Regions from separate parts of the Homo sapiens genome. Here all the other regions are linked to region 1. Evidence: promoter capture Hi-C in human tissues and cell types (Jung and others, 2019). All regions are on one chromosome and are shown on one strand. Each heading gives the region's core, a stretch centred on a gene start or on the middle of the fragment in contact. The rest is flanking DNA. Distances are from core to core; before and after follow the strand shown. Region 1 holds the start of NAALADL1 (N-acetylated alpha-linked acidic dipeptidase like 1). Region 2 has its middle 7.7 kb from the start of SYVN1. Region 3 overlaps PPP2R5B (protein phosphatase 2 regulatory subunit B'beta). Region 4 overlaps MAJIN (membrane anchored junction protein).

Region 1 (4,794 bases), core at 1,381-3,880:
TCCCCCAGGCTGGAGTGCAATGGCATGATCTCGGCTCACTGCAACCTCTGCCTCCTGGGTTCAAGTGATTCTGCTGCCTCAACCTCTGAGTAGCTGGGATTACAGGTGCCTGCCACCATGAGCGGCTATTTTTTGTATTTTTAGTAGAGACAGGGTTTCACCATGTTGGCCAGGCTGGTCTCGAACTCCTGACCTCAGGTAATCCACCTGCCTTGGCCTCCGAAAGTGCTGGGATTACAGGCATGAGCCACCGCGTCCAGCCCACTTTTAAAAAAATTGTGGTAAAATACACATAACATAAACTTAGCATGTGGAGTATGCAGTTCAGTGGCATTCAGTACATCCATATTGTGCAACATCACCACCATTCATCTCTAGAACTCTTCATCTGACAAATCCGAAACTCGGTCCCCATTAAATACCAACTATCCCTTCCCCTCTCTCATTCTACTCTTTTTATATTAATTTTGTTTGTTTGTTTGTTTTTTGTTTTTAGAGATGGAGTCTCGCTCTGTCACCCAGGCTGGAGTGCAGTGGCACAATCTTGGCTCACTGCAACCTCCACCTCCTGGGTTCAAGCAATTCTCCTGCCTCAGCCTCCTGAGTAGCTAGGACTACAGGTGCACGCTGCCACACCCAGCTAATTTTTGTTTTTTTGTATTTTAGTAGAGATGGGGTTTCACCGTGTTGCCCAGGCTGGTCTTGAACTCCTGAACTCAGGCAATCCGCCTGCCTTGGCCCCGCAAAGTGCTAGGATTACAAGCGTGAGCCACCACGCCCATGCCCAGCCTTTTTTTTTTTTTTTTTTTTTTTAAATCAGAGTCTCGATGTCTCCCAGGCTGGAGAGTGCAGTGGTGCAATCTCAGCTCACTACCATCTCTGCCTCCCAGGTTCAAGCAGTTCATCTGCCTGAGCCTCCCCAGTAGCTGGGATTACAGGCATGCACCACCATGTGTGGCTAATTTTGTATTTTGAGTAGAGATGGAGTTTCACCATGTTGGCCAGGCTGGCCTTGATCTCCTGACCTCAGGTGATCTGCCCACTTCGGCCTCCCAAAGTGCTGGGATTATAGGCGTGAGCCACAGCGCCCGGCCCCTAGTCAGAATTTTTGATGGAAAAGAAATGGCAGGGAGAGGGCCAACAGGAGGGACTTAAGTTGAATATTCAAAACTATTTCACAGGAGGACTTAGACTTCTGGAATACCAAACCTGAAAATTGTACTCAACCCCTTTATTTCCTACAGCTCAGAGAGGGTCAGGGAGGCATCCGAGGCCACACAGCCCATTGGTGGGACAACCCGAAAACACCTTGCCTTTCCTGCCCCACCCTGGGGCTTGGTTCCCCACTCAACACTGCCTCTTCTCCTTCCCCTTCCCCTCACTTCCTCCAGTCCACTGCCCAGCCCCTTCCTCACCGAGGCCTCCTGCACTGGGGGACTGCCACTCACCTTGGCCCCACGCCCTACACCCCCATATCGAGTCAGGGCAATGGTGCCTTCAAGTTTGATGCCCTGAGTCTGTAGCTCCTTAAAGTCTTCTTCCGCGCCCCGGTTGGCATAGACGAGGAGGCCCTAGTCCCAAGAGGGGGTGATCCTTAGAGCTGGGCCCAGCGAAGTGTGGGTGGGGAAGGGGGGTGGAAGTTTGCATGGCAGGAGGGAGAATTTAGATTCTGTTCCCCCACCTCACCCAGAGCTTGTAAGCTCCCCAAGAACAGTCACCCCTCATTTCCTCCATGTCTGGGTGCCCTGTAACAGACCTGGCCTTGAGCAGAGCCACTAGTGTTTGTTGAATGACTGATGGAGGAAAGGAGCAGCGATGGAGTGTCCCGGTGAGTAAATTCCGGAGGGCGCGCTGTGCCCCAGTTGAGGCACGTTCCCTGGGTCAGGGTGGGGAGAACCCTGGGTGGAACCAAGGGAGCTGGGCCAGAGCAGTAGGGGGGGTTCTGGGCCCACCTGTGGGGTTCCAGAAGGAGCATAGGCAGCATAGGGTTGTACCACATCTGGCCCCCCTTGCTCCCCGGTCACGTTCTCCTCAGTCCGGTGGCAGGAGTGGATGATGCCCCCAGTGGGGCCCACTGTTGGAGGGGTGGCAGTATCATGGCTGGGCCCAGCAGCTCCCCACCCCCGGGCATTCCCAAGACTGGGCAGGACCTCACCGATGTCCACGACGTTGGGCTGCTCCTGGCTAGGGAAGGACAGCAGCACTTCGTACGTGGAGGCCTCGGCCGAGTCCAGGCCTGACTCTGGGTCCTTCCAGCGCTGCAGCAGCAGCTGCACCAGGTCCTCATCCCGAGGGCTGGAGGCCAGGTGTGGCTCCCTGGAGAGTTCTCTGCAGGGTGGGCAGAGGGAGGGGCAGGGCCAGCATCAGGGAGGGGGCCTCTGGCAAACGGAGGAGCAGATGGCCCCACTTCTCACCTGAGGTTCTCCCGGATCCTGTGGGCATCCAGCTGCCCCATGACGGTCTCCAGGATCTCCAGGTCCAGGTCCTGGGGGGCCAGTGAGTTGGCTTTTTTGGGGATGGCAAAGTGGCCGAGGATGATCCCCAGCCCCAAGAGGGCAGCAGCCCCCAGCCCCAGCCCCAACACCTTCGTCCACTGCATCCTGCGGACTCTTGGCCAGCTGGGGTAGGACTGGTCTATAGGTTATTCCCTATAGAGGGGGTGTTGTGCCTGGTTAAACATTACCCCATGGGTGGCACTGCCCTTTGACCCCCAGCTGGCAGGGAGAGTGAGGGAACATCCCGCAGTGAGAGCCAGGAGCCATCCACATCCACCACATCCTGCACCATTTGCCTGGAATGGCTCTCCAAGGGCAGCAAGGTCACCCAGGGACACTGAAGCCGAGAGGGAAGGGGCTCATCCAGGGTGTCCCAGGAAAACAGAGGCCAAGCCAGGGCTGGAACTCAGAGCTCCTGTGTTCACAGCAGGGCCGTGCCCACTGCCCACCCTCACTGCCTCTGCCTCCCTCCAAGGCAGCCGATCTACAGCATACCCAGCCCTACCTGCCTGAGCAGATTTTGAGTTGAGATCCCCCTTCTTGCTGGACGTAAGCTGTGTGACCTTGGGCAATCCACTCAGCTTCTCTACACCTGTTTTCTTTTTTTTTTTTCTAGACTGTGTCTTCCACTGACACCCAGGCTGGAGTCCAGTGGTGTGATCTCGGCTCACTGCAACCTCCACCTCCCGGGCTCAAGTGATTCTCCTGCATCGGCCTCCCGAGTAGCTGGGATTACGGGTGTGCACCACCATGTCCAGCTAATTTTTGTATTTTTAGTAGAGATGGGGTTTCACCATGTTGGCCAGGCTGGTCTCAAACTCCTGATCTCAGGTGATCACCCGCCTCAGCCTCCCAAAGTGCTGGGATGACAGGAGTGAGCCACCGTGCCGGCTATGGTGTCATTTTCATTAAACAATATGGCATCTGTAGAAATAGCTAGTGCAGTGTCTGACATGTAGTGGGAGCTCATCAATTTTAACTACTCATCCCTCATCTGACTCTGGAAAATGTAAGGCCTAGAGCTAAAGGAAGAAGGAGGACCCAGAAGAACTCTCTGTGTCTATCCTGAAGGGAGCCCAGCGATACGAGGAATGGGAGTCCTGGGAAGGGAGGCTGTCCCAGAGGAGGCAGCAGGGGAAGCCCATGCCTCCCTGGCGAGGTGACTTCCTCTTCTATCCCCTGGCTCTGCCTGGACTCCGTCATCCACCCTCCTATTTATCCATCCACCCATCCCTCCATTCACTTATTCATTCCTTCCTTTATACATGCAAGCACTGTTCATTCTGTGCTATACTAGAGCCATGCAAGGCTGTGGGGAAGCAAAATCCAGCAGGCGAGGCAGACAGGCTTTAGGTTCAGCCATGTGGTAAGTGCCCTGTAGAGGGAGGATCACCATGCTCCCAGTGAAAGAGTGAGGAGTTCTGACTAGGAGGGAACATCTGAGGGGGTCCTCCAAGGCTGAAAAGGTGTTCCAGCATTTGCAAGGGCTGAGAGGGAAGTGAGACCCCAAGTATGCCATACACATACTGAGCCTCTTCCAGACCTCACGGAGAGCCAGGAGGGGCTGGGGGGGTCCCTAGGGACTTGAGCTGGGACTTCTCCCACCCTCCCATGGCCTATCCTGCCTTGACTCTGCCTCGCAGGTTGCAGCCCATGGATGGGCTCAAAGATGCCTGCAGAGCTTGGGGGCTGGATCAGGGCAGAGCGTGTGTGTGTGTGTGTGTGTGTGTGCACGTGCATGTGTGTGTGTGTGATTTCACAGACCCCTCTCAGAGCAGCCTCCTTCCTGCTCACAACCCCATTTTGCTGGCACCACCATCTCTTGTGCTGCTGGTGAGGAGGTTCAGCATGGGAGGACTAGGGGTGGCTGGGAAGGGATGTCATGTGATCAGTGACTTCAGGGAGGTGCACCAGGAAGCCACAGTTCTTGGCAACGTGATTATCGACGCCCAGAATATGACCTTGGATCTTATCAGAAGCCCATCGGTGCAGGGAGCATACACCTTCCTTATGAGGACACAGGACAGTCACCACCAGGTGGGGAGTGGGATGCCAAGGTCAGCTGATAAGTTGAGGGACTGAGGCAGCAACCCCATGGTCCTACCCCACCCACTCCTGGAAGGATTTAACCCCTCAATCATGTGAAGTCACAAACAGGACGCCTGGACAAAAGTGTGTGACATCTGAGTGATAACACCTGGGACTGTGGTTTGTGTTGGAGAGTGTGTAAACAGCTGTGTGTGTGACACCCAAGAGATCCACTCAGGCTGTTGGAATCCACTGGTGTCTACATGGCTGT
Region 2 (4,861 bases), core at 2,038-4,537, 84 kb after region 1:
GAGTCTTGCTCTGTCACCCAGGCTGGAGTGCAGTGGTGTGATTTTGGCTCACTGAAACCTCCACCTCCTGGGGTTCAAGCATTTCTCCTGCCTCAGCCTCCCAAGTAGCTGGGATTACAGGCGCGTGTCACCACACCCGGCTAATTTTTGTATTTTTAGTAGAAACGGGGTTTCACCATGTTTGTCAGGCTGATCTCGAACTCCTGACCTCAGGTGATTCGCCTGCCTCAGTCTCCCAAATTGCTGGGATTACAGGCATGAGCCACCATGCCCGGCCGAAAGATGATTTTTCAACAAAAGTGCTGAAATAATTGGATATCCATATGAAAACAAAAAACCTCATTCCCTACCTTGCATCGTATACAACACTTAACTTGAAATGAACCGTAGGTCTAAATGTAAAACATAAAACTGTAATATCTCTAGAAGAAAACAAAAAAATCTTAGTAATGTTGGGTTAGGCAAAAATGTCTTAAATAGGATACAAATAGCATAAACTATCAAAGAAACAAATTGATAAATTGGATTTAATCCTAACTAAACACTTTATCTGTTCAAATGACAGTTAAAGGGAGAAAAATTGGGAGAAAATATTTGCCAAGCGTATATCTGACAAAGGACTCATATTGAGAATACATATTATAACTTACTAATAAAAAAATGAAAAGCTAATACAAAATGGGCCAACATTTTGAGCAGACATTTAATCAAAGGTATTCAGATGAGAATAATCCCATAAAATGTGCTCAACACCATCATTATTAGATAAATTCATTGAAAGCAATGCCATACTATTAGTACTAGAATAGTTAAATTAAAAAGATGTCATACAAAGTGGTGGTAATGATGTGGAACACCTAGAATTATCTTAGATTGCAGGTGGGAATACAAAACGGTATAGCCATATTGAAAAAAGGTTCGGTAATTTCTTATAAAGTTAAGTATACATTTACCATATGACCCAGCAATTCCGTTCTTAAGTTACCCAAGATAAATGCAAATATATGTTCATAGAACTAGTGACAGAGAGCATCTCAAGTAGTTGCCAGGGACAGAGGCTAGGGGAGAGGACAGATTGCTCTATGGCACAAGCAAACTTTTTGGATAGTGGAAACATTCTCTATATCATGGTAGTGGTGGTAATTACCTGACTTATACATGTTTGTTAAAGCACACCAAATTGTGTAAGTGACTAATCTTATTGTATGTTAAAACTGGCAAATCTTATTGTATTAACATACAATTATATCTCAGTTAAGTTGACATAAAAGTTGTTGAAAGCAAACTTACATTTTGACCTGGATTTTCCCCTTTCAGGAATCTATCTTGTTGAAGAGCTTGTACATGACCCCAAAGATTTTAAGTCCAAGGATGATTGCCACAGCATTGTTTGAAATAGTGAAACAAGACAATAGAACCACATATCCATTAGGGAGAGAATGGTTAGGTCTGTCTTTTAAATTTTTATTTGTTCGTTTGTTTACTGTATTTTTTGTAGAGTCAGAGTCTTGCCATGTTGCGCAGGCTGGTCTCCAACTCCTGAGCTCAAGCAATCCTCTCAGCCTTGGCAACATAGTGAGACCCCCCTCCTACAAAAAATAAATTATCCAGGTGTGGTGGCTGTAGTCTCAGCTACTCAAGAGGCTGTGGTGGGAGGATTGCTCAAGCCCAGGAGTTCAAGGCTGCAGTGAGCTATGATCCTAAGATCATGCCACTGCACTCCAGCCAGAGTGACAGAGAGAGACCCTATCTCTAAAAGAAAGAAAAAGAAAAGAAAATGGTTAATAAGCACAAAAAAATATGTTAAACATCACTGGTCATTATGGAGATGTAAATCAAAACCATAGAGAGATGATTTCATACCCACTAAAATCATTGTGATAAAAAAAAGACCAACAATAACAAGTGTTGGCAAGATGTGGAGAAATTGGCACCCTTATGTGTTTCTGGTGGGAATGTAAAATAGTGTAAATGCTTTGGAAAACAGTTTGGCAGTTCTTCAGTAAATTAAACATAAAATTACCATATGACCCAGAAATTCTACTTCTAGGTATATGTTCAAGAGAACTGAAAGCATCTGGTCATACAAACACTTGTACAAGAACATTCGTAGCAGCATTATTCATAATAGCCAAAAAGTACAAACAACCCAAATGTCCATGAATGGCTAAACAAAATGTAATGTACCCACACAATGGAGTATTATTTAGCCATAAACAGGAAGGAAGTACTGCTTCATGCTACAACATTGATGAACCTTGAAAACCCTGTGCTCAGTGAAAAAAGCATTCATATCACTGCACTTACGTTACATGTCCAGAATAGACAAGTCCATACAGACAGAAGTAGTTAGTGGTTGCCAAGGGCTGGTGGCGTGAGGAATGGGGCCTGACTGCTAATTGGTATGGGGTTTATTATTTGAGGAGTGATAAAAATGTTCCTGAGGAGATAGTGGCTATGCTTGCACAATTTTGTGAGTATACTAAAAATGACCGAATTGTACACTTTATTTATTTTGAGACACAGTCTCGCTCTGTTGCGAAAGCTGTAGTGCAGTGGCGCGATCATGGCTCACTGCAGCCTGGAACTCCTGGGGTCAAGTGATCCTGCCACCTCAGCCTCCCAAGTGGCTGACATTACAGGCAAATGCCATCATGCCTGGCTAACTTTTTTATTTTTAGTAGAGACAGAGTCTCACTCTGTTGCCCAGGCTGGTTTTGAACTCCTGACCTCAAGTGATCCTTCCGCCTCAACCTCCCAAAATGCTGGGATTCAAATGTGAGCCACCACACCTGGCTGAATTGTACACTTTAAAATAATGAATTGTGGTATGTTAATTACATCAATAAAATAGGTAAGGAAGTAACAAAGACAAAATAGAAATTAAGAAAATAGAGGACAGGCGCAATGGCTCACGCCTGTAATCCCAGCACTTTAGGAGCCTGAGGCAGGCGAATCATGAGATCAGGAGTTTGAGAAGAGCCTGGCCAACATGGTGAAACCCTGTCTCTACTAAAAATACAAAAAATTAGCTGGGCGTGGTGGGGGGGCACCTGTAATCCCATCTACTTGGAAGGCTGAGGCAGGAGAATCACTTGAATCTGGGAGGCAGAGGTTGCAGTGACCTGAGATCGCGCCATTGTACTCCAGCCTGGGCAACAATGCGAGACTCTGTCTAAAAAAAAAAAAAAGAAAAGAAAAAAGAAAATAGATAAAGCTAAAATAGAATACACAAAGTTGAAAGCTGGCTCTTTGAATAAACTAATAAGAATGACAAATCTCCAGAGAGACTGGTCAAGAAAATAAGGTTTGCACAAGCAGACAATATAATGAATGAAAACAGCAATAAACAGACACAGCAGAAATTTAAAAATAATGAGCATGCAGTAGGTGCAATTTTATGGCAATAAATTTGAAAATTTAGGAGAAATAGACAATTTCCTAGAAAATAAAAGATGCACTAAAACTGACCTAAGACACAACAGAAAACATGAATTGATAAGTATTTTAAAATTTTATTTTATTTTTGAGATGGAGTCTTGCTCTGCCGCCCAGGCTGGAGTACAGTGGCGTGACCTCGGCTCACTGTAACCTCCACCTCCTGGGTTCAAGCGATTCTCCTGCCTCAGCCTCCCAAGTAGCTGGGACTACAGGCGCCTGCCACCACACACAGCTAATTTTTTGTATTTTTAGTAGAGACAGGGTTTCACCATGTTGGCCAGGATGGTCACCATGTTGGCCAGGATGGTCTCCATCTCTTGACCTCGTGATCCACCCGCCTCGGCCTCCCAAAGTGCTGGGATTACAGGTGTGAGCCACCATGCCCAGGCTTTTTTTTTTTTTTTTTTTTGAGACAGTGTCTTGCTCTATCACCCAAGCTGCTGGAATGCAGTGGCATGATCAGGGCTCGCTGCAGCCTCAAACTCCTGGGTTCAAGTGATCTTCCCACCTCAGCCCTGCAGAGTAGCTGGGACTACAGGCATGCGCCACTGTGCCTGGCTAATTTTTGTATTTTTTGTAGATATGGGGTTTTGCCATGTTACCCTGGCTGGTCTCAAACTCCTTGGCTCACGCGATCCACCTGCCTTGGCCTTGCAAAGTGTTGAGATTACAGTCATGAGCTGCTGCGTTCGGCTTAAAAGTTTTTCAACATTTTTGACAACAACATCTGGATTCTCACATTCTCCCTCCATGAAAGAGAAAATGAGGAACTATTCTCTCTCTTCCATGGTGGAACACTCCAGGTACTCCCAGCCTGGAAGGCCAGACCCTCCAACTTTCCCTGAATGACCCCCTCACCAAGAAGTGTGCATTGAATGTGGGACTGACCACACATGAGGTCAGTTTGTTGGTCTATCTAGACTGCCTTTGGACTTCCCTTGCCTCTGATCTCATTCCTTTAATTAACAAACATTTACTGAGGGCCTACTGTGTTCAGGCCCCAGGCCAGGTTCTGAGGACATTGTGGAGAACAAAATACATTCCCTGACCTCATGGAGCTTTCAGTCTCATGGTAGAGAGATCCACAAGCTAATTGCAGGTTATTTGACTGTCTGCTGAATGAATGCATTAGTGGAAGAATGAATGAGTAAAAGCTACATTGTCCAAATTCCTGTCCTGTCAGAATTGATGTTGACGTTCTTTTTTTTTTTTTTTTTTGAGATGGTCACTTACTTTAACAACAGTACATATACCATGTTATCACCATGAAATGTAAATTCAGGTTAGACAAGAAAATTTCACAAATGTAATAACATTCTATAGTTTATAAAAGTTTGGGTATACTGTCTGGCCAAACCAGCTTGCTCATAAGTCATTAATCAATTCCATTATAGGTAATTTGATTAGTTTAATGTTTGTA
Region 3 (4,928 bases), core at 126-2,625, 130 kb before region 1:
GGCTGAGAAGGGCATTTCAGTGTGGGGGGGCGGGGATCTCAATGGGGCCTGGTTTGGGATGTTGGGAAGGGAGCGCAGCCTCTGGGTTGGGGGAGAGTTGGATGAGCGTGCCGTGCAGGTGAGGGTGGGCAGGCAGGATGCCTAAGGGGGCACTGGGCCTACCCTGCTTGCTTTGAGCCCACCTGCGTTCTTCTCTTGCAGGTTCATCTATGAATTCGAGCACTTCAATGGTGTGGCTGAGCTGCTGGAGATCCTAGGAAGGTGATTCTCCCTGGGCCTCAGCTGGAGCTCAGGATTCTGGAAGGAGGGACTGGGGCCAGGTCACCTGAGCCCTCTTCCTCTCTTCTGCCTCCTCCTCAGCATCATCAATGGCTTTGCGCTGCCCCTGAAGACGGAGCACAAGCAGTTCCTGGTTCGCGTCCTGATCCCCCTGCACTCTGTCAAGTCGCTGTCTGTCTTCCATGCCCAGGTGAGGCCCAGGCCTGTCCCTGCTGCAGCAGGAGCTCCAGACAGTCAGGGCAGCCAGTGGGTCCTGGAGGTCAGATCCTCCAGGGATCCTATCTCACCTTCTTTGTCTTTATAATTCTGTTCCATCTACCTTAGAAAATTCCCACTGGCGCTTTAAGGCTAACCTCAGATATCAGCTCTGTGAAGCCAGGCTTTTCTTCTCTACCCTCCCTTGGCAGAATTACATTCTTCTCCATCTATATTCCCAAATATTTGGATACACAAATCTATTATGGGAGATTTTGATACACAATTTTTTTTTTTGAGACAAAACCGTACTCTGTTGCCTCAGCTGGAGAGCAGTGGTATGAACATGGCTCACTGAAGCCTCTACCTGCTGGGCTCAAGCAGTCCTCCCTTCTCAGCCTCCCGAGTAGCTGGGACCACAGATGTATGTGCCACATGCCTGGCTAATTAAAAAAAATTTTTTTTTTGTAGAGACAGTGTCTTGCTATGTTACCTAGGCTGGTCTCAAACTCCCAGGCTCAAGTGATTCTGCTGCCTCGGCCTCCCAAAGTGCTTGGATTACAGGCGTGAGCCACCACACTAGCCATATTATGGAACCTTTTGCAAAATTTATAAAGATGAGTTTGTTGACTGTCCCCACTCCCCGCGAGATCAGAGTTGTATTCCCAGCACACTGAATGTGATGCCTGGTACATCCTAGGCAGGTGATAAATGCTTGGTGAATAAGAAAGTAACAGGCCGTGGGTGAGCAGTATTTGGCATTCTGTCCTGGACAGCAAGTCCTTGGCGCCTGGTGCCTTCCTGACCTGTCTTCCTTCCCTCCACCTGTCACCCCCTGCAGCTGGCATACTGTGTGGTGCAGTTCCTGGAGAAGGATGCCACTCTGACAGAGCACGTGAGTACCTCTGGGGGCTAAGGCAGCCTCTCACCTCTGCAGGCGTGACTCCTGTCTCATCTCCCACAGGTGATCCGGGGGCTGCTCAAATACTGGCCAAAAACCTGCACCCAGAAGGAGGTATGAAGAAGGGCTTTGATGCCCGCCAGAGGGAGGCTGGGAGGGCTCGGCCTCTAGAAGGCAGTCAGGTGTGTGTATGTGTAGGGGGAGATGTGAGCTGCTGCCCCTCTGTCCCTACTCCCCTCCCCAACCCACCCAGGTGATGTTTCTGGGGGAGATGGAAGAGATTCTTGATGTCATCGAGCCCTCCCAGTTTGTGAAGATCCAGGAGCCCCTTTTTAAGCAGGTGGCTCGCTGTGTTTCCAGCCCCCATTTCCAGGTATGAGGCAGGACAGGCGGGGATGGGAGCAGGGCTGGCCTGGAAAGGTTGGGTAGCTGACCTAATAAAGCTCCCTTTGCCCTCAGTTTCTCCTCCAATCCCGGGTCTGGTAATGGGGAGATGCTGGACTTAGGGTCAGGAGACCTAGGGTGAAGCCTCGGACCTGCCTTCCACTGGCTGAGGGGCCTTGAGCAAATCACTGCACCACTCTGATTCTGATTAAGCTTCCGCAGCTGTAAAATGGGCCAACAACCTCTTCACAGGGTGGGGATAAGGATGGAAGAGATTGTGAGTGTAAACATGTTTGGTAAACTGAAGTGTGATCCAGAATGTGATGGAGGACTGTTATCACTTTTCCCCTTTTGCTAGTGGCCTTAGATTTCATTAGACTCGCTTTGGGATGCAGCCAGGCTTCCCCGCACCAACCCAGCTAACTAACTCATGTTCTGCTGCAAGCATGTGCAGACTTCCTCCCGTTCTTATGGGCCATAACCCAGTGGAAGTCAAGTCTTCCTCACAGTGATTCTGGCACTTCGGTTCATTAAACACCTAAAAGTCTAGTATCTCATTTGATTCTTATAACATCCTGTTGAGATAGGTATTATTAGCCCATTTTACAGATGAGAAAACTGAGGCTGGGAGGTTAAATGCCTCTCCCAAGGTCACATGGCATAGTAGAGTCTGTAGTGGTTAGGATTCACCCCGCAGCATTGGATTCCGTATCTAGAACTCTTTTCCCTTCAACACTGTTGCTTCCTCCAGGGCTCAGATAAGCCCTGAAGGTGGGGTGTGTGAAGGTCAGGGGGCCTGGGCGTTGAGGTAGTGATGGACACCAGACCTTGCACACAGAGAGAAGCCACTGCCAGTTAATCACTCTGCCATCTTGTCTGCCCCAGGTTGCAGAGCGGGCTCTGTATTTCTGGAACAATGAGTATATCCTAAGCCTCATTGAGGACAACTGCCACACTGTGCTGCCTGCTGTGTTTGGGACCCTCTACCAAGTCTCCAAGGAGCACTGGAACCAGTGAGTGCCAGGCCATGACCTAACTCACAGAAACTGGGACCAGGGCCAGCCAGTCCAGACCCGACCCCAGGGTTACTCCTAGCTGGAGAATATCAGAGAAAGCATCAAAAGATGGCCCAGGGGTGGTGAAAAGGACAGGAAAGTGGGCAGTGCTTGTGTTCAGGTGGAATGCTGTATGTGAAGGGCAGGGAAAGGGAGAGGTGGGCAAACCAAAGCTGTTTCATCTCCTCATCCCTCCTTGACACTGCCAAGAACCATCGTATCACTGATCTACAATGTGCTCAAGACCTTCATGGAGATGAATGGGAAGCTGTTTGATGAGCTCACAGCCTCCTACAAGCTGGAAAAGCAGCAGTGAGTGTTGGGGGCTGGGCGTGGGGGAAGGGAGAAGAGCAGGGAGGAGTCAGACCCCCATGGCTGGAGGGAACCCGAGGACTACCCCAAACTCTGTCTGATCAGATGCTGCAAGACTGTCCATGCTCCTGCCATCCTATGCCTGACTGTCTGCCCCTGTATCCTCCCGTCATTCTTCGAGTAGCTCAGACTTGTTCTGACTCCCTGTAGCTTCCTACAGAAGCCAGAACCACTCAGGCCCCACCCGTCATCTTCTCTGTGACTGCAGGCTGGGATCTGTCTGTCCTCTGCTCTCTTCCCTCAGTAGAGGGTTTTTATGGAGTCACAGAACAAAAATGGTTCCATGCCTTCCCTTTGCCGGTGGGGTGGTAGTGAGGGAGTCTGGACTGTGAGGGAGTCTGGACTGTGGGGGGCCCCAGGAAAGGGAGCTGCCTCACCCTCTCTCCCCAGGGAGCAGCAGAAGGCCCAGGAGCGTCAGGAGTTATGGCAAGGTCTGGAGGAGCTGCGGCTACGCCGGCTACAGGGGACCCAGGGGGCCAAGGAGGCCCCCCTCCAGCGGCTTACACCCCAGGTGGCCGCCAGTGGGGGTCAGAGCTAGACAGCACCTCAGAAGGGGAAAAGCTAAACCCAGAGCTGTCAGTCCCTCTATCCCTTCTCCTGTCCAGGGGCCCAGAGAGAAACACACCTACCCCTGGCCTTGCCAGAGTGGCTTCTGAGGACTCCCTGCCCAGCCCAGCTTTCACTGGGGGGAGACGAGGAGAGGCAATGGTGGTCTTGGCAACAGAATGCTCAGCCCCTCGTGGCAGGACTTGACAAGGGCAAGCTTGACCAGGAAGCTGCCATCAGGGATCTTCCCCTGCCCCGCAAAGCTAGGCTCCAGCTGCAGGCGGGCTCCCACCCTCTGCTCCTGGCCTTGGGCAAGGGCACTCAGCGCCTCGCCTGCCCCTGCCTTGGCCAATGCGAGGTCCTTCCTTATCCCCACCATGGGGTCCATGGTCTATTTATTCTCGCCCAGCTCACCCTCTACACAGACACTGTCCTGGGTGCACACTCCTCCCTTCCCTCGCTGTGTACTTCCTTGTCCCCTTTTTATTTATTGGGCAGGGGGAGGGGGAGGGCACAGGCAAGAAGAGATTCACAGTGTCCTGGGGTAAGGGGGGGTTCACAGTAATCATGGTCTACTCCTCTTTCCGTGGCTGGGGGTAGACTTAATAAAGAGAGAAATTCAAGAACTGCTTGCTTTATTTAGGGGTAAGGGCAAAGAGGGAAGTAAAATGATGAAAGATTGGTTTAGAAGGGCCAGGCAGAGGCAGGGAAGAAGCAGAAACTCCCCTCTTCTCAGGTGACAGTCACAAAATCTTACAAAGGATCAAAGCTGGAACAACCCTCCCCTTATTTAAAAAAATTCCATAGCAAGTAACCATCAGGGCTGGAGCTCCTTCCAGTTTTTGAATCTTGAACACAGGTTTCCCCCACCAGAACGTCAAGCCCTGTGACCCAGGGGAGGAAGGAGGGGAGAGGATGGGCTAGTAGCGAGAGAGGCGACACATGTCACACTGGCAGGCCCTGGCCGTGAAGATCTCGAGCTCCTCCCTCCGGCTCCCCACACACTGCAGCTGTACTTTGACCTGCGGGAGAGGGGAGTCCGTGCTGCAGTCCCCTTTCTCAGGGCTGTCTAGGATCTCCATCTCTCTGGTCTTCCCGCGACCCCAGCGTCCATCCACCGGGCCCGGGCCCTCCTCACCTTCTTCAGGCCACTGATGGTGCAGCACTGAGAGACGGAGGTGATGTTGTGTCGGTAA
Region 4 (4,734 bases), core at 908-3,407, 100 kb before region 1:
TCAATCCCAGCCTTGTCATTTCACCCTAAGCTTCAGTGTTCTCATGTTTGTGTTCAAAGAAGATAGAAACTGTGGCCAGCGCAGTGGCTCATGCCTGTCATCCCAGCACTCTGCGAGGCCAAGGCAGGTGGACTGCTTGAGCCCGGGAGTTCAAGACTGGCCTGGGCAACATGGCAATACTCCATCTCTACAAAAAATACAAAAATGAGTTGGGTGTGGTGGCACACGCCAGTAGTCCCAGCTACTTGTGAGGCTGAGGTGGGAGGGTCACCTGAACCTGGGAGGTCGAGGCTGCAGTGAGCTATGATTGCATCACTGCCCTGTAGCCTAGGCAACAGAGCAAAACCTTGTCTCAAAAAAAAAAAAAAAAAAAAAAGATATTGTGTCTTGTTTATCTTTGTATTCTCCATAGTAGCACAGTGTCTAGCTTATAATTATACTGGCTAATATTTATTGAGTAATTACTATGGGAAGTGTTACTGTTTTTTGTTTTTTTGAGACAGAATCTCGTTGTGTCACCCAGGCTGGAGTGCAGCCGCACAATCTTGGCTCACTGCAACCTCCACCTCCTGGGTTCAAGCAGTGCTGTGCCTCAACCTCCCAAGTAGCTAGGATTATAGGCACACACCACCACGCCCAGCTAATTTTTTGTATTTTTAGTAGAGATGGGGTTTCGCCATGTTGTCCAGGCAGGTCTCAAATCCCTGAGCTCAGGCAATCTGCCCACCTTGGCCTCCCAAAGTGCTAGGATTACAGGCATGAGCGACCACGCCCGGCCTTTTTTTTTGAGATGAAGTTTTGTTCTTCTTGCCCAGGCTGGAGTCTGGAGTGCAATGGCTTGGTCTCCGCTCACTGCAACCTCTGCCTCCAGGGTTCAAGCGATTCTCCTGCCTCAGCCTCCCAAGTAGCTGGGATTACAGGTGCCTGCCACCACACCTGGCTAACTTTTGTATTTTTGGTAGAGATGGGGTTTCACTATGTTGGCCAGGCTGGTCACAAACTCCTGACCTCAGGTGATCCACCCGCCTTGACCTCCCAAAGTGCTGGGATTACAGGCGTGAGCCACAGAGCCCGGCTGTGTTTTTATACATATTAATTAATTTAACTCTCACAAAAACCCTGTGAGGCAATTCTGTTATTCCCATTTTACAGACGGGGAAACAGACAAAGAGAGGTGAAAAAATGTAGTCTAGGTTACATAACTAGAAATAGCAGGGCCAAGATCTGAACCAAGGCAGCAGGGTTCCAGAGCTCCTAGTCTTAACCCCTAGGCTAGCCTGCTTCTCAGTAAATGTTTTCTTTTTTTGTTTTTGAGATGGAGTCTCACTCTGTTGCCCAGGCTGGAGTGCAGTGGTGCGATCTCGGCTCACTGCAACCTCCGCCTCCCAGGTTCAAGCAATTCTCCTGCCTCAGCCTCCTGAGTAGCTTGGACTACAGGTACGTGCCACCACACCCAGCTAATTTTTGTATTTTTAGTAGAGACGGGGTTTCGCCATGTTGGCCAGTCTGGTCTTAAACTCCTGACCTCAGGTGATCCACCTGCCTCGGCCTCCCAAAGTGCTGGGATTAAAGGTGTGAGCCACAGCGCCCAGCCTCAGTAAGTGTTTTCTAAATGAAGAAAAGAGAATGATAACATCTGACCCCAAACTAGTGAGCATAAGAGAAAGATGCATATGCATATCAAATGCACCTTGGAAATATGACATACGTTGAATGTAAATACTCTCGAGCTACTAATTATTGAGCTACTGTGTGGCAGGCATTGCAGACATCTATTTCTAATCCTCAGTCTTGAAACAGGCCTTCTTTATTAACCTCATTTGACAGGTAAGGAAACAGACTCAGGGAGGGTAGGTACTTTGCCCGAAGTCAAACTGTGAATGGCAGAACACTTCTCATAGTAATTACTCAATAAATATTAGCTATTATAATTAGAAGCTAGACACTATCCTAGTATGGAGACTTCAAATCCAGGTTTGACTGGCTCTAAAGTCTGTGTTCCCTCCTCTCTGTTATGCTTCCGTGAGCTTTTCACTGCTCAGGTTAACTGAAGCAAAGTGAAATAAAGCCTGCTCTGCTCATAATTAAAATAGGTAGAATGGCCGGGTGCAGTGGCTCACACCTGTAATCCCAACACTTTGGGAGGCCGAGGCTGGTGGATCACGAGGTCAAGAGATCGAGACCATCCTGGCCAACATGATGAAACCCCGTCTCTACTAAAAATACAAAAATTAGCTGGGCGTGGTGGTGCACATCGGTAGTCCCAGCTGCTTGGGAGGCTGAGGCAGGAGAATCGCTGGAACTTGGGAGATGGAGGTTGCAGTGAGCCAAAATCGTGCCACTGCACTCCAGCCTGGTGACAGAGCGAAACTCCATCTCAAAAAACAAACAAACAAACAAACAAAAAACCAGGTAGAACATTTTCTTGGTCCTATGTTAAAATAACTTATTCATAATGATATCCTTGAGGGTCCTGCAAGATCCTAATGTATCTTTTAACACTTAGCCAAAGAGGTACCTTCTTAAGGGTATGACTCAGTTTTGGTTTCACAGAGTTTTGTGTTTAAGTGTATTTAATTGCTTTGAAATGTGGAGGCATATGTCTTAAGAAATCACAATAGTCACAAATTACCGAATTGTGAAGTCAGAAGAGGAAAAGCTAGTTTAGACCTCTCATTTTCCAAATGAGGCAATTAAGATCCAAGTTGATATATGATTTGCCAACGGTCACACAGCTAAGTGGTGGCTATGCCAGGACTGGAATCCAGGGCCAACCCCCAGAACTCTAACTCCTTGTCCATTGCTTCCACCAATTTGTAAAGTTGATCACCTGCTCAGTCTTCTTCTGTAGGAAAACCTAAAGCTAGAGGAACCGGGTAGAAAGGAATGAAAATGAAGTCGGAATAAGGCAATTGCAAATGTTGCCAATTTAAATGAAGACACAGCAGCCTTGTCTGTGTATTTACAGTCGAGTTTCCTGAACGTCAAGTACCAGGCAGTGGTTGGGATGGTGAGGTTTCCCAGAGCCCTGGAAGGAGGCAGTCCTCCGGAATCTTTCTCTATGCCAGCTGCAACAAAAGAGAGCTGCCCAAGGCTGGAAACTGGTGAAAACAAAAAGCTCTCAGCCTCAAAGGTGCTGACATTTCAACTAGGAAAACTGAGAAAGAATACAGGCTTTAAATTCCCATGGAAAAACATAAAGTTCCTTTGCAAAGGAGATGTAGCAGGAGGAAGCCAAGTTATCAAGTGGAGGTTGTGACTCAGTTTGTAGGAAATAATTAAAACCTGAATGTGGATGCATCCTTAAAGAGTAACTTTTCCAGAAGTCGTATGCTTCTTTCCCTACCTCCAGCTCCTGGGTGATGACTTCCTTATTTTCTATCTCTTCTCCTCTAGAAGGTAAACAGACAAGAGACAAGTAAGACATGAAGGAAAGCTCTGGAGAGAGTAGACTCTACTAGGGCAAAAATAACACTTCCACTGAGCTAAAGAAACATGACATAAGTAAAACTGTGTAAGCTGACCCAGTGCTCATGGGGAAGAAGTGATCACCTAGGTGGCGTGGTCTGAACATTGGTATAAAATGACTTCTCAACCTGCCAAGACCTGAAATTCCCACTGTGAAAGTTAATCATTGGTTACAACAGTTGTACTTTAAGTGTGCTTTGGGGACCCTTTCAATGGGTCTTCAAGGGTAAAACTATTTTCATAATAATACTAAGGTATTATTTGCCTTTCTCACTGTGTTAATATTTGTAACCATGATTGCAAAAGCAATGGTGGGCAAAATTGCCAATGCCTTAAAACAAATCTAGCCAGTTGCACTAGGCTGTACTATCAGTCAAAGAAATCTTTACTGCTGCATAGGAAAAAAAAAAAATCCAGTTTCACTGAATATCCTTGAGGAAGCAGAAAAAAAAAGCAATCATTTTATAAAATCTCAATCTTTAACTACATGTCTCTTTAAATGTTATGTGATAAAACACGAAGTATGCATAAAGCGCTTCTGCTGCATACCAAAATATGATAGTTATTTTAGGGAAACTCACTTGTGTGACTGTTTAAGCTGCAAACTGAACTGTCTGCTTTTCTTCATGGAATATTTTACTTGAATGATCAGCTAACAGACAAACTATGGTTGTTATTCATACTTGGAAGTTTGACAGACACTTTCTTAAAAATCAATAAAATAGGCATGTCAACTCAAGGAAAAGAACTGACAATACTTGTTGTCAACAATAAATTTTGGGCTTTCAAGTGAAAATTTAAATTTTGGAAAATTTCCGTCCACCATTTTGAGTTTGACAGTTTCCAAATACGTCAACACTTTTAAGACTGTGGTGATATTAACAAATATTTTTCGATACTGTATAATGAAATGTATCAATATTTGGAGGATGTGCATAATTCAGTGAACCAAAATATTCCAAATGACCAGTGAAACACATCATGTTACAAAATCATCCTAGGTCAGGCCAGGCGCAGTGGCTCACGCCTGTTAATCCCGGCGCTTTGGGAGGCCAAGGCAGGTGGATCACCTGAGGTCAGGAGTTCGAGACCAGCCTGGCCAACGTGGTGAAACCCTGTCTCTACTAAAAATACAAAAAAGGCCCGGTGCGGTGGCTTACGCCTGTAATCCCAGCACTTTGGGAGGCCGAGGTGGGTGGATTACCTGAGGTCGGGAGTTTGAAACCAGCCTGATCAACATGGAGAAACCCCATCTCTACTAAAAAT

What was found. The method cuts DNA at HindIII sites, captures the fragments that hold promoters and counts their contacts. A contact is called where the count stands out against the background at its distance.
Region 2: a fragment that was not itself captured here is called in contact with the fragment with the promoter of NAALADL1 in region 1 in 3 of the 25 tissues and cell types used here (adrenal gland, aorta and hippocampus).
Region 3: a fragment that was not itself captured here is called in contact with the fragment with the promoter of NAALADL1 in region 1 in 2 of the 25 tissues and cell types used here (mesenchymal stem cells and psoas muscle).
Region 4: a contact is called between a fragment that was not itself captured here and the fragment with the promoter of NAALADL1 in region 1, in 2 of the 25 tissues and cell types used here (bladder and spleen).

The regions. Positions count from the first base shown.
Region 1 is chr11:65,055,923-65,060,716 of GRCh38, forward strand. It overlaps NAALADL1 (N-acetylated alpha-linked acidic dipeptidase like 1), which reads right to left and starts at 2,631. Exons shown (of 18, transcript NM_005468.3): 1 at 2,415-2,631; 2 at 2,156-2,328; 3 at 1,953-2,074; 4 at 1,449-1,571. The coding sequence starts at 2,599. The HindIII fragment of the contact is 22,908 bases long and covers 1-4,794 here.
Region 2 is chr11:65,139,749-65,144,609 of GRCh38, forward strand. No RefSeq gene overlaps it. Among named protein-coding and RNA genes, the nearest start is that of SYVN1, 7.7 kb to the left of the region's middle. The HindIII fragment of the contact is 4,285 bases long and covers 1,146-4,861 here.
Region 3 is chr11:64,930,121-64,935,048 of GRCh38, forward strand. PPP2R5B (protein phosphatase 2 regulatory subunit B'beta) reads left to right here. Exons shown (of 14, transcript NM_006244.4): 7 at 202-261; 8 at 361-469; 9 at 1,316-1,369; 10 at 1,439-1,489; 11 at 1,629-1,748; 12 at 2,645-2,772; 13 at 3,025-3,126; 14 at 3,577-4,355. The coding sequence ends at 3,724. It overlaps GPHA2 (glycoprotein hormone subunit alpha 2), which reads right to left. Exons shown (of 4, transcript NM_130769.4): 3 at 4,871-4,928; 4 at 4,351-4,754. The coding sequence ends at 4,653. Among named protein-coding and RNA genes, the nearest start is that of GPHA2, 3.3 kb to the right of the region's middle. The HindIII fragment of the contact is 3,170 bases long and covers 1-2,960 here.
Region 4 is chr11:64,951,411-64,956,144 of GRCh38, forward strand. MAJIN (membrane anchored junction protein) reads right to left here. Exons shown (of 11, transcript NM_001037225.3): 4 at 3,347-3,392. Among named protein-coding and RNA genes, the nearest start is that of GPHA2, 18 kb to the left of the region's middle. The HindIII fragment of the contact is 9,200 bases long and covers 1-4,734 here.